Regions from separate parts of the Homo sapiens genome. Here region 1 is linked to region 2. Evidence: promoter capture Hi-C in 16 types of primary human blood cells and fetal thymus (Javierre and others, 2016). All regions are on one chromosome and are shown on one strand. Each heading gives the region's core, a stretch centred on a gene start or on the middle of the fragment in contact. The rest is flanking DNA. Distances are from core to core; before and after follow the strand shown.

What was found. The method cuts DNA at HindIII sites, captures the fragments that hold promoters and counts their contacts. A CHiCAGO score of 5 or more calls a contact.
Region 1: a fragment that was not itself captured here is called in contact with the fragment with the promoter of DYRK3 in region 2 in 1 of 17 cell types (M2 macrophages); the score reaches 5.2 in M2 macrophages.

What each region holds. Positions count from the first base shown.
Region 1 is chr1:206,801,392-206,806,404 of GRCh38, forward strand. All of the region lies in intron 2 of IL19 (interleukin 19), which reads left to right. Among named protein-coding and RNA genes, the nearest start is that of IL10, 31 kb to the left of the region's middle. RefSeq lists an enhancer at 1,787-1,836. The HindIII fragment of the contact is 756 bases long and covers 2,415-3,170 here.
Region 2 is chr1:206,633,861-206,639,178 of GRCh38, forward strand. DYRK3 (dual specificity tyrosine phosphorylation regulated kinase 3) reads left to right here and starts at 1,676. Exons shown (of 3, transcript NM_003582.4): 1 at 1,676-1,920; 2 at 3,790-3,901. The coding sequence starts at 1,844. DYRK3-AS1 (DYRK3 antisense RNA 1) reads right to left here and starts at 1,808. Exons shown (of 2, transcript NR_183645.1): 1 at 1,740-1,808; 2 at 336-1,123. RefSeq lists silencers at 1,536-1,955, 2,006-2,115. The HindIII fragment of the contact is 1,008 bases long and covers 976-1,983 here.

The DNA.
Region 1 (5,013 bases), core at 1,543-4,042, 170 kb after region 2:
ACCTTTCCCTGGCCAGACTCAAGGCCATTGGCACCTGGTCCTTGTCTCTTTCCAGCTCTGTCTCTGTGCCCTCCCCATTCCTGGTCAGCCTCCAGCACTGTTGGCCCAACTGCCTATCTCAGACCTCTATGGCTCTGGGTCAGTCTTAGACAAACTACTCCCTCTTCTCTCCCTGTCAAGCATCACTTATCCTTCCGGTCAAAGTTCTGTGTCTCTATAAAGGCTTCTCCATCCCACCTGAGTCAGACCCAAGAGCTCCCTCTTCTGTGCTGTCCCAGCACTTTTGAGTCACTTCTATTATTACCCCCACTTCCTTGGAGGACAGTTATCTGTTCTTATGTTCATATTGTTCTTATGTTCTTAAGTAGACTGAATTTCTTGGGGACTAGACCTTAATCATCTCTATATCCCTGGTCATGAGCAACAGTGCCTGACACATCACAGACTCACAATACATACTCTGTTTGTCAATGAAGGGTGATTACCTGGGTATCTTGACTGTTGGGATTGAGGTAGGATGAAGGCAGCTTTGGGAAGAACTCCAGTGAGCAGAAAAAGGGAAGGGACATTTGGGTGGAAGAAACAGTTTGAACGAAGGCACCTCCATAGAAAGGCATGGACAAACATGGGAGCTTGCAGGAAAGGAGGGGAAGGGGAGGCTGCAGCACAGGGGGCTCCCAGCATGGTCCTGGGCTCCTTGTGTGCATCAGTGAATGCACCAGGCCTTTGCAGAAACTTGATGTATTGGCACTGATCCATAGAGAAGGGAACAGAGGCCCAGGAAGGAAGGTCACACAGCTTATGAGTTGGTGATGGAGATGGGATTAGACCATTCCATTAGACTTTAAAACACATGGCTTATTGGGGCCCTAGAGAACACCTAGTAATTCAGGTTGCCTGGTGCCTACAGTAAGTCAGTAGGTTGTGAGAGGAAAGGTGTACATGACAGAATTATATTATTCATAATATCTGGGTGGTTTTTTTTTCTGCCTTCCATGTACCAAAACCTGGGCTAAGCATTTTTATATATTACCTCATCAAAACGAACAGCACCTTTATCAAGCGATTACCCCTATTTTACAGATAAGGAAACTAAATGTCAGAGAGTTCAATAATTTTCCCAAGATCACGAAGCCAATAAGTGATGGAGTCATGACTTAAATTCAGGTCTTTTGGTGACACAACCCAGACTAATTGGGAAAGAGCTTCATGGGTAAATCGTGAGTCATACTTAATTTCAATTCCTGGTGACATAATGAGGGTACAAATTTTCAATTTTTTTTTTCTTTTTTTTTTGCCATGGGCAAGTTCCAAGCCTGGGCTTCTCTTCCAACACTGTCCCTCCCTTCCCTGTATAGTTCTGCTCACTTGTCCTGTCTTCTTGCTCTGTCCTCTATGCCCACATGTATAGAACTGGATCCCCAATCAAGGCTAACTGCTAGCCTTAAAGAAAGACCAATCTTCTGGCAGATAAGAAGGACTGTTAAGGAAGACGAGGGGACAGGAAAGCAAGGGGAATGTCAAAGAAATAAGGGGCCTGGCCAATATCTCAAGAACAGAAGCAGCTGTGGCCCTGGAAGGGCGAGGGGGACGTCATTTCCTTTTCCAGATCCCTTTTTTCCTTTGAGGTTCAGTCCCAAATGGGTAAAGTTCAAATACTAGTCTTACTCAGAATTCCCTAGTCCTGCTTGCTCAAAAGGTGGATTTTCTGGCCTCACTCCAATCTTCAAAACATCTTTTTGTGGGGCTTGAGAGTCTGCCTTTTAAAATAGCACCCCAGAGAGTCTACACATTGAGGGCCTTGGCTTCTGTAATGCAGTTACATCCATGGGCTTTCGCTGTTGCTGCTGAGAGAACTTGGGGTGCCAGGAAGTCGGGGTTGGATGCCTTCCAGTTCCCTGCCCTAATCAGAGGCATTGACCTGGAGGCCCTGTGTAGGAGTCCCCATCTTTCGGAATTAGTGATGTGGTTAGAGTAGCAACGTGACTCTCTGTGGACGGAAGAAGGTAGGTCGGATGTGAGAGTCTCCCTCCATGAACATGTGTGCGTCATCTGAGTCAAAGCTTGTATCTTTACTCTCAAAAACAAGTCATTTTTGTTCCTGTCAGCATCTTGGCCAGCCCACAACAAAGAGTACAAGCTGGATGCTTGTACTGTGCTGCGATAAAGAGGCCCAGACACAGGCCTCAGGTGATCCTACAGAGCATGGCTGGAGAGAACAGGAAAGGATTATTCCCCTGGGGGCTGATGGGGCTGCCTTCAGCAACACAAAAACATGCTTACAGAAAACTGCTGGAGGACATAGGAGTGATCTGCTTGCAATGAGGTTTTTCAACCACCAGGAATGGGGTGACCTAGTCCAGAGCCCTCTAATAAAGTGACTTTCAAACTGACTGCACTTCAAAATAATCCTAAGCTTTAACAAATAGAGATGCCCAGGCTTCATCCCAGATGTACAAAATTCAACTCTCAGGGACAGGGTCTGGGACTCTGTGCAAAGCCCCCTGGGAATTCTGGAACAACTAATCTGGCATTGCTCTAGGAAATAGCACTTGGAAAGCACTCCAGCAAGGTGGGAGGGAAAATTATTCCAGCTTGAACACTACAATATCAAGTAATCCTTTCTCTCTTCGCCCTGTCTCTTCCCTTCCCTTTCTTGCTCTCTGTAACAGGCAGGAGGCTCAGAAGAGCTTCTTCTCTCACGCTTCTTGCAGGGCAGTACAGGGAAAGATGTAGCTGTGTAAATTCCAGGAGGGCTTCAGGTATATTTAAATATGGGTTGCTTGCCACATTCACCTGCCTATCAAGTTTGCAGATGACAACTGCAGAATGTGGCACCCAGGTCTTGAAAGTCATGAAGCAGAATTGGATAACATCTGTCCGAGTCATGACAAAGAGGGTTCCTGTGCTGGGAGTGGGGGCTAATGAACCTGGAGATCCTTTCCAACACAGACATTCCCTGATGCCAATGATAACCTTTTCAAATTGTTGTTTTCTTGATTTTTATCTGTTTCTGGCACCTCATTTGATTCCCTATATGACAATAACCCCCAGGTTGAGTGCACTGAAATAATTTAGGTAATGAGAAGCTGAAAGTTACTACAGATGGAAGGAATTAGGGTGTATAAAGTGTGCATTGTGTGAGTCATAGGCTGTGTCTTTAAGCAACAAGCTTTTATTGGTGTCAGCATCTTTCCAGGTACAATGCAAACCCAGTGAGAATGAGATTTGGGGTTTAAAAGTGTTTCTGACCAGAGATGCCTGAGGGAATGACCCAGGGATCAAACAGAGATGCAAGAGAGCAAGGCTTCAAGGAAACTCACCTCAGCCTGTTTCCTCAACTGCTTTCCGCACCTTTGTTTGCGGGTGGAAGAATAGAAAATGGGCTTGAATTTTTCAATCTAAAATTCTCTGTTCAAACCTGAAATTCTCTTACCTTATAGGAAGAGCAGCTGTATCTTTCAAGGATAGAATGGGTGCTAACTGCATGGGTGAAATTATCTGAATCCCAGAGAAATGCTCTTTAGAAGAATCCACCAGACTCCTTCCTTTCTAAATCATACCCTTCTTTGAAGTTCCTTTCAATCCTTGGATCCTCTGTGGACACTGTTCTGATCATTCAAGCACTAAATGATCACCTGCTACCTGCTGTCTGCATACCTGGCTCTGCTTCTAGAGTACACACCTGTATCGGCACAATTTATTTAGCTATTAGTCATGTATGTGTTTCTGATAGCTCTCAGTTAGCTGCCTGGGATGGTTATTTACCTTTTTGTGCTAGTTTTACCTTCTCAATGGGACTTTGAGCAAATTAAGAGTGAAAACACATCTGTACTGATCCGTTTACATGTCCAATAAATAGATTTTAGTGCCAACTTGTGCAGCCATTGCTCTAGGTCTTGATACAGATATATACCAGGTGGTAGAGGCTATAAAGACAAAGCAGGCTAAGGGGAGTTAAGTGATAGATTCAGGAAAATCATTGAGCTGAAAAATGAATAATAACCTCATTCACTTTTTTCTGTTTATCAAAGAATGCCATATGCTAGATGCTAAAACAATTTACATCTGTGTGACTAGAGCAAGCCATTATAAAAAGGAAACAATCCAAATGGAAGAAATATTTTATCAGGCTGGAAAACACAGTTATTGAATTAAACTCCAAAATGGAAGCCATAGCTTACAAATGGACACTGCAGAAAACTGAATTAATGAGTAAAAGGCAAACTGAAGATAAATTTCCTAGAACACAAAAGCAAAAGATAAAGAAATGAAAATGAAAGAATAGAGTAAACGTGAAATACAGATATCAAAGAGCTAACCTACACATAACAGGAGTTCCTAAAGATAATGAACAGATTCTTTTGGAGCAGAAGCCATATGTAGAAAATATAATGGCTTTAAGTAAAATCTTATTTTAAAAACTGAATGCGCTTACTGTATTCATCAGGAGTCTGGATCGTGTCAGGCTCAGTTCAAACCAGCTTAAACAAAAAAGGAATTTTGCTGGCTCACTTAATGAAGTCCAAGGGTTCACTAGGAATCCATCCCTGCTGCTCTTGCTTTTTTCTGGGTTGCCATCATTCTTGGGAGGGTTGTTCCTGTAGGGTGACATTCAGTATCTCCAGACTCACATTCTCCCAGTTTACCAATCCCAGTGGAAAAGAGAGTTCTAATACATGTACCATTAACCTTGGGTTAATCCTCGTTGATTTTGATTGGCTTGGCTTGGGTCATGTACTCACCCTTGAATCAATCTATGCAATTGAGAAGCGTTGTTGCCTTAATTTCACCGGCAGCACACACCCACTCCTGGGATGAGAGGATGGGTCAGCTTTACCTAGAGTCATATGGACTGCAAATAAGGGAAATATCATTTCCCAGAGGAAAATGGGGTTGCTACTTTCAGAAGAAAGGGGGATGAATGCTAGGTAGGCTAAATAACATCACATTGGCAGATAGAAAAGAGCTACTACTCTGAAATATATTCAGGTAGAACTTTTACATCTAAAA
Region 2 (5,318 bases), core at 426-2,925:
CCTCTCACGAGCAGTGATTCAGAATGAGGTAAGAAATCATGTGGGGGCAAGTCTCATTCAACTGTTTAGGGAGGGCAGTAAAGTGGTCTGAGGTGTCTACATAAGTACTGAGAACGGGGATTATTTAATAGAATTTTGCAATCTTAGAGCTGGAAGGGACTTCAACAGTAACCTCGTCCAATCTTTGCGTTGCCATGGAACTCTTTCTTCAAACAAAAGCTTCGTAAGAGCCCAAATACAAACCCCTGTGAAAGCAGAATTGCTCTGGTTGCAAAGTGGGGGAAGGGAGAGACAAAAAGAAAAAGTTTATTTATAAAATAAACTTTAAAAAATCATCATGGAAGAAAACTTTTTTATTTATATGTATATCATAGAAAGGCTAAAGTAACATTGATCACAAAAAATAAAATTCCCCAAACCAATAGATTATTAGTTTATACAGTGAAGATACTTTGGCTCTTTAGGGACATTTTTACTTGGAGTCACGAGAACAGAGAATATGACTTTTAGTCACACGGAAATGAGCCTTGGATGGGAATTTTTAAGATTTATGGGAACTGTGTGCTATGCTGATTTGGGACAATAAGCGTTCTAGTCCCACCAGGTGGCGCCCGCGTTCGGCATTCTGAGAACGTTTGGTGTCTTCTGGACTCCAGAATCTGGACGGTCCGACCGCCTCGTGCTTGGTGGGTTTACAAACTCTGACTGGTTCTTACCACCCATCTAACAGGAAATTTTTTTTTTTTAAAAACAAACCAACCCATAAAACATCTGACCAGATGCCACACTCAAGAAAACACTTGTATTCGGGTGTTTTAACCTCCAACGATGGAAATCTGCTTAACATTGGTGTTTCTGAGGTGTCTTAGCATCAGAAAAGGAAAAAGACACATATACACACATTCTAAGGAAAAAGTCAGGAAGGGCCTTGCAGAGGTAGGTCCTGGTGCGGCAAGAGGACGGTTAGGCGTTAGAAGCTTCTAGTTCAGGCTTTGCCGCTTCATGCTCATGAGGAAGCGCGGCTCCTTTGGCCTCAGTTTCCTGCGCTGCCTTCCCGTCTGTGGCTGACTGTTGCAGGGTAGTCAGACAAAGGCCCAGCTTCTATTCTGCATCCCAGCTAAGTCTGTAAAAGACGAAAGTCGTCGGGTACCTCCGTTACTGAGATCAAATGTTCATAAATGGAAGCATCGTGTCAATAAATGGGTTTATTATTATTGCTTTCTTATGTAACTCACCAACCCCCGGAGGGCCGTCCCCGCGGTGGGAAAGCCTAAAACAATACACATATGTTTTCACTAATTTAAAATTCATATTGAAGCGGGACGTTTTAGAACTTCCAGGACGCAACGTGCTATTAAGGGACCGTGAGGGGCGGGCAGCCCTTCTGAGATCGCGGGCTAACTGCTACTTTCACCCCTCCTTCTCCGGACCCCTCTCTCCGTCTACAGCTCGCGCCAGGGACCCAAACAGCCTAGGCCGCGAGCTCCTCGCCTCCAACCTCCCGCCTCCCGCGCCAGTACTAGCACCCGCTAGGAGCGCCGCGTGGCCTTTACCGGCCACGGGCCCCGCCCCTGTGCGTCAGCCCGTAGCTGCGCCGAGGCGTTTCCCGGGGGCGTGCCGCGGTTGCTAGGCGACCAGACCGCTCCCCCTCCCGCCCCTGGAGCTGCGTCTCCCCACTTCCCAGCCGGGGCCAGTCGGGAGCGAAAGTGCGCTGAGCTGCAGTGTCTGGTCGAGAGTACCCGTGGGAGCGTCGCGCCGCGGAGGCAGCCGTCCCGGCGTAGGTGGCGTGGCCGACCGGACCCCCAACTGGCGCCTCTCCCCGCGCGGGGTCCCGAGCTAGGAGATGGGAGGCACAGCTCGTGGGCCTGGGCGGAAGGATGCGGGGCCGCCTGGGGCCGGGCTCCCGCCCCAGCAGCGGAGGTAACGGCGCCACGGGGTAACGGGCTGGAGGCGCCACAGGGAGCGGCTGGCGCTGGCAAGCGAAGCTTGGGGGTGGGGAGGAGGTAGAGTGAGCCCTCAGTAGGAGGGACGAGGGCAGGGGTCTGACTGCCTCCCCGGGACCGCCCCCACCTCCTCTCTATCAGGGCCCCCTCCCCCCATCCCTGTCTCACCGGGCGCGGGGGACGGGGCTAGAGCGGAGTTAGAGCAAGAAGAATTTCCACCCCTGGATTCCCTCTGAAACCCTAGATCGGGGTATATGTTAAGGGATTACGAAAATCTAGGACTTTTTGTGGGGCTTTTTATTAAAGGGGGGGAGCCCGGGAGCAATACCTTGGAAAGAAGCCCTGTTGCTTAGAGCGGATAACCAACGGCTGAACTCTTGGGGTTTGCTGTGAGGGGTGCGGTCTAGCTTCGAATGTACAGGTTATGGGCTATGCTGGGTACGGCTTTCTCCGGATCCTATTTTGAGAGATTCCCCACCTTGCGTTGTATTTTACACCTAAATGGAGAGAAGAGACCCTTGCTCCCCGCTTTATTTGCATGCAGACTCTTGTTAATTTCCTCTGGCTGTTAGTCACTAGGCAATTTTGCACGTTTTCTTTTTCTTTATATATGTGGACGCCTATCCTGGTTTGTTTTATCAGGCTTATGGCAAAGGGTCAGTCACATCCAGAATATTTGGTTTCTGTTGGTGAAGCCATTCCCTGTTAAAAATATAAATAATTCTATCAGAATGTGAGCATGTTTTTAAAAAGAGCATTCCAAAAATATTTGTAGCGGTTTTTTTCCCTTTATATTTTTATAACACATCTATAAAGAAAACTCTAGAATGAATTTCACAAAACAGTTTTTAAGGTGACCAGAATATTCCAGGATATTTTAAAAGACGTTAAAAAATTATTCCTCTGCAACATCATCATTGTTATATTCATAGTGTATCATGTAAAATGATACAATGAAATGCTGATGTGTGTAACTGGGAAATCCGTGTTCTTGGTAGCAGATGAAATACATTATTCAGGGCCATCTTGTGGATTAAATAAATCCTCTCCGTCTTTTGTGTTCCCTTACAGTGGTGGAGCCACAGTGTTAAAGAACAGAGAAGTGATCCTTAATCATTTAGAATTTTGCCTCCACCATCCACCAGAAAATGAAGTGGAAAGAGAAGTAAATTCAATACATTTTATAATTTAGAGCATCCTTTTAGCGTTTGCTGTAGTACTTACTGTATTTTTCTGCAGGTTAGGTAGATGTAAGTAGGTAAGTAAGTAAATGAATAAAGAGAAGACAGCCTTAAAAAGGCCTTTTATTTCTTGCCTGTAAGACCCAGAAGTGTGAAGACTGGAGCTAGTCTTCCCATTAACATGGGGAAGACAGGCTCAGAGGAGAAGGTAGCACTGGGGAAGACAGGCTCAGAGGAGAAGGTAGCACAGCCAGTGTTAGAGCTGAGATTAGAATCCAAGTCTCTGACTTGAGAAACTATTACCTCTGTTAGTTTTTTCTGGTCTGTTTTTTTCTCTGTGAGCTTCAGTTTCAAACTAGCCTTTATTTTCAAGTAGTAAGTTATTATGAGATCCTTCTGATAGTCCTTATTGTGTTTAACAACATTCAGAAGGACTTGTTTCAACTGTTTTAAAATACAAACCTAGAAATGCTGTCCTTGAAAAACAAAAGTTGGATTTCCTCTGTACCTCTTCCAAATACCCCAGTTGTTTGTATTCAGTGCCAAAATGTAGTGTAGACATTTATTTCTATTACTGTTCCTTGTAGCAGATATGAAGCAGTTAAGACATAGGATTCTATATTCTTCAGTTCCTGACAGATTTTGTCTGTAATCCTTTTAACTAGGTTGGGGGATGGTGTCTATGACACCTTCATGATGATAGATGAAACCAAATGTCCCCCCTGTTCAAATGTACTCTGCAATCCTTCTGAACCACCTCCACCCAGAAGACTAAATGTAAGTAAAAGAAGTCATTCTTTGTACATGAATTGTTTTGGAAAGGAGGAAGTGCTACTTAATGCTCAAGGTACACTTATGTATCACTGACAACCAGACTTTTTTTTGGTTTATTTTTGATTTCTCTTGACTTTGGAATAACAATGTCTGTGGTCCAAATTTAGCTTTTCAGAATGATTTCAGTTTGGAGCTCACCTTTTTATTTCAGTTTCCACTGGGATAAATATATAGCACTAGGAAAAAAATAATATGCTACTTTTATTTAGGTAATGCTTATTTTTGTATAGGATGATATACACCTAGTATTACAAAGGCTCCTTTTAACAAAAATAAGAAACAGAAAACATGTCAGAATTCATAGATCTGCAGGAGTTTTTTTTCCCCTGCACGGTGGAAATGCAGTCTTCGTTTATTAGTATACTAAAGAGAACCATTTTATAGATAGATGATAACTACAACAGTTTGGTTTTTAATGCACTTAATCATTTTGGGGACTGCAGACACTTAGCTTTTTTTTTTTTTTTTTTTTTTTTGAGGTGGAGTCTCTCTCTGTCACCCAGGCTGGAGTGCAATGGCATGATCTTGGCTCACTGCAACCTCTGCCTCCCGGGTTGAAGTGATTCTCCTGCCTTAGCCTCCTGAGTAGCTGGGATTACAGGCGCGTGCCACCACGCCTGGCTAATTTTTGTATTTTTAGTAGTCAGGGGTTTCACCATGTTGGTCAGGCTGGTCTTGAACTCCTGACCTCGTGATCCACCCGCCTCGGCTTCCCAAAGTGCTGGGATTACAGGCGTGAGCCACCGTGCTTGGCAGCTTTTTTTTTTTTTTAACTTAAGATAAAATTAATTTGCATTCCTTCAGCATGCATAGAGTGGTAGGCAGAGCAGGGTTTGGCCAAGTTCCATGACAAAGAGAGGCTATCCTATGACTTTAAAATTTCCTGCATATGTCATCAGATGAACAAACTGAATAATTGAATTGACTCATTTGTAATATTTCTCTTTCACGTTTCTGTGTTTAAGACCTGAAATTGTTTCTATATGGAAAAATCACTTCTATTTTTCATAGTCCTTCCTGTGGTCATCAGTTTTTGCTTAAAATCAACCTTTTTCCTTTTTTTTTTTTTTTTTTTTCCTGAGACGCAGTCTTACTCTGTCTTCCAGGCTGGAGTGCAGTGGTGTCATGTCAGCTCATTGCAACCTCCACCTCCCGGGTCCAAGCAATTCTCCTGCCTCAGCCTTCCTGAGTAGCTGGGATTACAGGCGACTGCCACCACACCCAGCTAAGTTTTGTATTTTTAGTAGAGACAGGGTTTCACCATGTTAGTCAGGCTGGTCTAACTCCTGACCTTAAGTGGTCCACTTCCCTCGGCCTCTGGAAGTGCTGGGATTACAGGCGTGAGCCACCGCACCCGGCC